Linked DNA regions of Homo sapiens: region 2 is linked to region 1. Evidence: promoter capture Hi-C in 16 types of primary human blood cells and fetal thymus (Javierre and others, 2016). All regions are on one chromosome and are shown on one strand. The core of a region is centred on a gene start or on the middle of the fragment in contact, and the rest is flanking DNA. Distances in the headings are between cores, read along the strand shown. Region 1 holds the start of MFGE8 (milk fat globule EGF and factor V/VIII domain containing). Region 2 overlaps ABHD2 (abhydrolase domain containing 2, acylglycerol lipase).

Region 1 (2,899 bases), core at 148-2,647:
GCATTGACACAGACAGAGGCTTGGGTTGGGAATGGACTCTTCCCTCCCAACTGCACCGGCCCTCTCCCTACACTGCTCCAGGGCAAAACGGTCCAGTGGGAAAAAGGGAAAGGGAAAGGTGTACTCTACCCAGCCACGTTACCTGTGTGTAAGATAGGTATGGTGTTTCCTCCTTCTGGAAAAGGCCACATCACCCTGTATAAAAACATCTTTGGGACTTCAGAGTCCTGCTCTTTCGGGGACTTTCCAGTAACATTTGGCCAGAGTTCAGGTTGGGGGGTACAGGGAAGAGTAGAAAGGGGCTAAGAAGATCCAGCTGTCTTTCATGGTGGCCGGGGAGGGCCAGGAGCTCCCAAGTTCCTGGGAGCTTGGAGCACTCTGGAAGCTCTAGCCCCGAGGGTCAGGCAGATCACAGGACATAGGGCTGGGGCTCAGCTGTTACCTACCTTGCTTCAGTCAATCCCATTTCTATGAGAAAATGATGGAGGGGCCACCTAAAGAGTCCTGGCCCTGACTCCCTCCCAGCGCTCCACGGTGAATGGCACGGGGCATCCGCAAGTCCAGCCTGCAAGGGGCCCAGCTGGCCTCCGGAGGCCTCCTGGGAGGCGGAGGAGGACCGGGGAAGATACAGCAGCCGGCCAAGGCCGCGGGAGGGAGGGAGTCAGGAGACTCCCATCAGCAGGCAGCCCTCTTCCAAGCTCCTCGAAGCCTCTGGGTCCCCTCCCGGGCCCCACTTACGGCCTGCGTCCATTGCACCGACTCCCCGGCCCTTCCCTTATGTGACCAGGCACGGACAATTGGGAGCGCAAAAATCCAATGAACTGTCCAGCCAACTGGAGTTGGCAGGGAGATGGCCAGGACAAAGTTATCCAGACAAGACTTATCCATACTAGAGTCCTAGAATCTCCCAGGTGGAAGGGGTTCGAAAGTCAAACGCAGTTCCCTGGCCTCATTTTTCACCAGGGAAAAGAGAGGCCCGACACAGCGGATTCCTTTGTCATTATCTGTAAGCCGCATCCCTGGGGGCGGCAGGGCTGTCACCCGATGTCCCGAGTCCCAGCCCAAAAGCCCCAGCGCAGAGACAGCAGGGCCGCATCCCCCTGTCCCGCCAGGGCGCAGCGGAAGAAGCCGCCCCTCTGCCCAGCCCGGTCCCCGGGGCTTTGTCTAAGTTTGTCAACAGTGGAGGTGGAGGGCGGGCGCCGGGCAAACTTCCGAGCGGCGCGGGGAGGAGGGGCGAGGGGCAGAGGGCGGCGCGATCCACTCACCCAGGGCGACGAGGAGGCTGGGGGCGCAGAGCAGCGCGCCGCACAGCGCGGCCAGCAGGCGGGGGCGCGGCATGCTGCGGGGACGCGGGCGCTGGAATGGGCACGCTGGGCTGCTCAGACCCCGCGGGGTTCTGGCGCCTTCTCCTCTGGGACCGGAATAAATCAGGCGGCTCAGCACCTCCCACTGGCCGTGCGCTCCGCCCAAGCTGGCCAGAGGCGGACTGGGGGCGGGGCTCCGCGGCTGGGAGGGAATTGGTTGAAAGGAATTGGGGGGCGCGGGGGTGGTCCGCGATATCTGCCTCTTCCGCCACTGCCACACCGGCGTCCCGCGTCGTGCCAACGGCCGGGTCACGAGTCTTGAGTCTGTTGGGCGGGAAAAGTTCAGGAGTTTTGTTTTTAAGATTTTTAGACTTGAAAAGATGCTAACTCTTTATTCATAATCAGATAGATGCAAATTAAAACTACAATGAGCATCGTGTTTCCCTTCTCGGATCGGCAAGTATCAAGATGTTAACAAGGTTAGTGGAGGCTGTGGGGAACAGGTCCAAGCATGCTTCGCTGAAGACAGTATAAATTAGTTCAACTTCCCTAGAGGGCTATTTGGTAACACCTATCAAAACGACAAATGCTGACACCTTAAGACCTAGCATTTCCACATAGAGAGATTCATTCTACAGAAACTCCCATGTGCAAAATGACAGATATACAAAGATAGCATAGCAACATTGTCTGAAATGGTAAAATACTAAAAAAAAAAAATCAGCGAAGGTTTCTGTAAAGGGCCTAATAGAAAATGTTCTCTGATATGTAGGCCCTGAGTCTCTGTAGCAGCTATTCATCTCTGCCTTTGTTGCAAGAAAGGCACCATAGACAAAATGCGAGGAAATGGGCACCTGTTTGCCGAAAGGGAATAAAACAAAGCAAGCCTGTCACCGTTGACTTTTTACTAAATGATTTGTACTTATCATGTGCAAATATTACCTGTTTACAAATAAGTGATTTTAATAATAGTGTTTTGGCTGGGTGCGGTGGCTCACACCTGTAATCCCAGCACTTTGGGAGGCCGAGGCACGTGGAACACCTGAGGTCGGAGTTCAAGACCAGCCTGGCCAAGATGGTGAAACCCCGTCTCTACTAAAAATACAAAAATTAGCCGGGCGCAGTGGCAGGTGCCTGTAATCCCAGCTACTCGGGAGGCTGAGGCAGGAGAATCGCTTGAACCCAGGCGGCAGAGGTCCCAGTGAGCCGAGATCATGCCACTGCACTCCAGCCTGGGTGACACAGTGAGACTCTGTCTCTAATAATAATAATAATAATAATAATAATAATAATAATAATAATGCTTCAGGCTGGGAGTGGTGACTCAAGCCTGTAATGCCAGCTCTTGGGGAGGCCGAGGTAGGCATATCACTTAAGCTCAAGAGTTCGAGACCTTCCTGGGCAACATGGCAAAACCCTGTTTCTACAAAAAAAGAAATACAAAAATATTCCAGGCGCATGCCTGTAGTCCCAGCTACTCAGGAGGCTGAGGTGGGAAGATCGCTTGATCCCAAGAGGTCGAGGCTGCAGTGAGCCACGATTGCACCACTGCACTCCAGCCTGGGCAACAGAGCGAGACTGTCTCAAAAAATAAT
Region 2 (2,842 bases), core at 123-2,622, 260 kb after region 1:
ACTCTACGAAGTCTTTACTCTTGTTACTTCCATTTTACAGATGATGAAACAGACCTAGGAGAGTTTGGTAACTTACCCAAGGTAACGGTATTTTGCACAGTTTCCTCACTACAAAAATTGTCTGGGCTGTTTGTTGAAAGTTCCCATTCCCAGGCCTCATCCTATTCCTGTAGGTTCTAAGCCTCCAGAAAGGAGCCTGGAAGCTGAAGATTTTCCCTGTATACGGGGGTTACTTGTCATCAAAGAGAAATTGAGAACATTTGGGGCCACTAAGTGGTAGGCCCAAGCAGTCTGGCCACAGGGCCTTTTCACTTAGCCATGAGGCCAGGCTGCTCCTTTAAGGCCTGGTTTTCAGTGCCTGTTATGGCCCAAGGGAGGTGAACAAATGTCTCCTTTGGGATTTCTAAATTTTTTATTTGTTGCGTGGTGTAGAAGCTGATATCAGCTAATTGCTCATTGTGCTCTCAGCTGTTTGTTTGCACATCCCCTTTTTTATATCACAGCTACATTTTGAAATCCAGCATTCCCTGGAGGCATAATATTCCTTCCATTGCTACCTTCTTAAAAAGAGAAACTTGGCCAGGGCAGTGGCTCATGCCTGTAATCCCAGCACTTTGGGAGGCGGAGGCAGGCAGATCACCTGAGGTCAGGAGTTCAAGACCAGACTGGCCAACAAGACAAAACCCTGTCTCTACTAAAAATACAAAAATTAGCTGGACATGGTGGCACATGCCTGTAACCCCAGCTACTCAGGGGGCTGAGGCAGGAGGATCGCTTGAACCTGAGAGGCAGAGGTTGTAGTGAGCCAAGATTGTGCCACTGCACTCCAGCCTGGGTGACAGAGCGAGACTCTGTCTCAAAAACAAACGAACAAAAAGAAACTTGAATGAATCTGACTTCGGTGGGGACAACAGTCTGGCATTTCACATTCCAAAGTTAAGAGTTCAAGGATCCTTCTGGACCAGGTTTTTGTTCCTTCCCTGTCCTCAGGGCCCATTCAGAGGCCTTGTCATCAGAATCCACTCAATTCAGCAACTCTTTATTGAAGGCCTGCAAACTGCCCCAGCCTCTGCTGAGTGTAAGAGGGAGAAAAATAAGCAGCTTGATCCTCTACTATCTCACTGGAGAGGGAGACGGGCTGCCTTCTCAAAGTTGGTGCCTGGGTCCTGCTGTTTGGGAGGAAGCAGCTCTTGGCCCGGTTTTTCCCTTAGTTTTAGGCATCTCTTGCTTAAGCTCCTTCTAAGCCCCCAGCATTTCCAGATCATGATTATTAGTCAAAAGTATAGGGGATACTGTCTGGGAAGAGGCATGAGGAGGCCTCCAGGGGTGTCAAAAATATTCTGCGTCTTCATCTGGGCAATGCTTACCTGGGTATAAATGTGTAAAATTTCATTGATTGTGCATTTTCCTGTATGTATGTTATACCCCATTAAAAATAAAAAAGAATAGGGCAGTTTCAAGTGTATTGATGCATAATATTGCCAGACATATTGTAAAGGGAAAAAAAGAGCCACCGAACAATGTGTATGTTACCACTGGTATTTTTAAAAAGAATATAGGAAACTTACCTTTCACTCCATCTTTTACAGCATTTGAATTTTCTACCATGGGCATGAATTACCTACTCAAAAACAAAGTCACTATAGATTCCTGGGCTTGGTCCCCATCTTACAGAATCAGCTTCTCTGGAGTTGAGGCCCAGGAATGGTCATTTCTAACACCCTCTCCAGGTGATTCTATGCACACTGCAGCTTAAGAACTGCATGGGGCTGTGCCGGCCTGGCTTAGGCTACATCCTACCACAAAAGAAGACAGATATAAGGGGAGTTTACCCCAGGCTCAAAAGATACTTTCCCCCATGGCTTGATGATTAGGGAAGGAGCTGTTCAACTCTATTAAGAATGCCAAAACCTCTGAGCTGGTGCCAAAGTCAACAACTCCCGTTTCCATTGTAAATCCGTACTCTTCTCATGCCAGTCTATTTTGTATGTGCTTTGCGTCGACATCCCTATCTTTCCATGTTAGATTTTAAATTGGCTCCCTACAGAGTTTGAGGTTGGGCCTTAGAAGGATGTGATGAATCCCTTCACTTGTAATATGGCCATTCACCTCCTCCTCTTAGCAAAGCTGCTGAGACATAACATGGCTTCAATAACTTCCCAAGGGGACACCAGCTGAGATCATCTCTCCTGGGCAAATGAGGCCCAAACAACCCTCTCTGTTAAGAGGTCTCATCTGTGTATTTTTGAATGAGCCTGCCTCCCTTGGCACCCTGTCCCTATGTCACCAAGAACGTTTTACCCTAATCCTACAGAGCATCCTGGCAGTCCCTCTGGACTGAAGTTTATCTTTCCTCTCCTTTCCAACTCTGTCAAGAAGATTCTGTAAATAACATCCACTTGCTACTTTTCTTAACACCATGAATCATCATACACATGGGTATAGCATCCCAATTTGTAGCCTAGGAAGCTAATCTCAAAGGATTTTGCTCTTGCATTTATTTATTTATTTACTTATTTTATTTTTTTGAGACAGGGTCTCACTCTGTCACCCAGGCTGGAGTGCAGTGATGCGATCTTGGCTCACTGTAGCCTCTGCCTCCCCGGCTCAAGGGATCCTCTTGCCTCAGCCTCCTAAGTAGCGGGGACTACAAGGACACACCTGTAGTGTGTAGAGGTGGGGTCTCACCATTTTGTCCAGGCTGGCCTAGCTTTTATTTAGGTCTGTGTGTGAGCATATGTGCTCATGCACACCCTGAAATCTGCTTTGATATCCATGATTATCTAGACACGGTTCTTGTGACCTACCTTTTAAGAAGCATTGTACATTTGATACATGGTAC

The links. Contacts are between HindIII fragments. The CHiCAGO score rates a contact against its expected background, and 5 or more counts as called.
Region 2: a contact is called between a fragment that was not itself captured here and the fragment with the promoter of MFGE8 in region 1, in 6 of 17 cell types (M0 macrophages, M1 macrophages, naive CD4 T cells and 3 more). The highest score is 7.8, in M0 macrophages.

What each region holds. Positions count from the first base shown.
Region 1 is chr15:88,911,982-88,914,880 of GRCh38, forward strand. MFGE8 (milk fat globule EGF and factor V/VIII domain containing) reads right to left here and starts at 1,398. Exons shown (of 8, transcript NM_005928.4): 1 at 1,266-1,398. The coding sequence starts at 1,338. RefSeq lists an enhancer at 608-1,139. The HindIII fragment of the contact is 11,396 bases long and covers 1-2,899 here.
Region 2 is chr15:89,172,715-89,175,556 of GRCh38, forward strand. The region is part of intron 5 of ABHD2 (abhydrolase domain containing 2, acylglycerol lipase); the gene reads left to right. Among named protein-coding and RNA genes, the nearest start is that of RLBP1, 47 kb to the right of the region's middle. The HindIII fragment of the contact is 4,890 bases long and covers 1-2,842 here.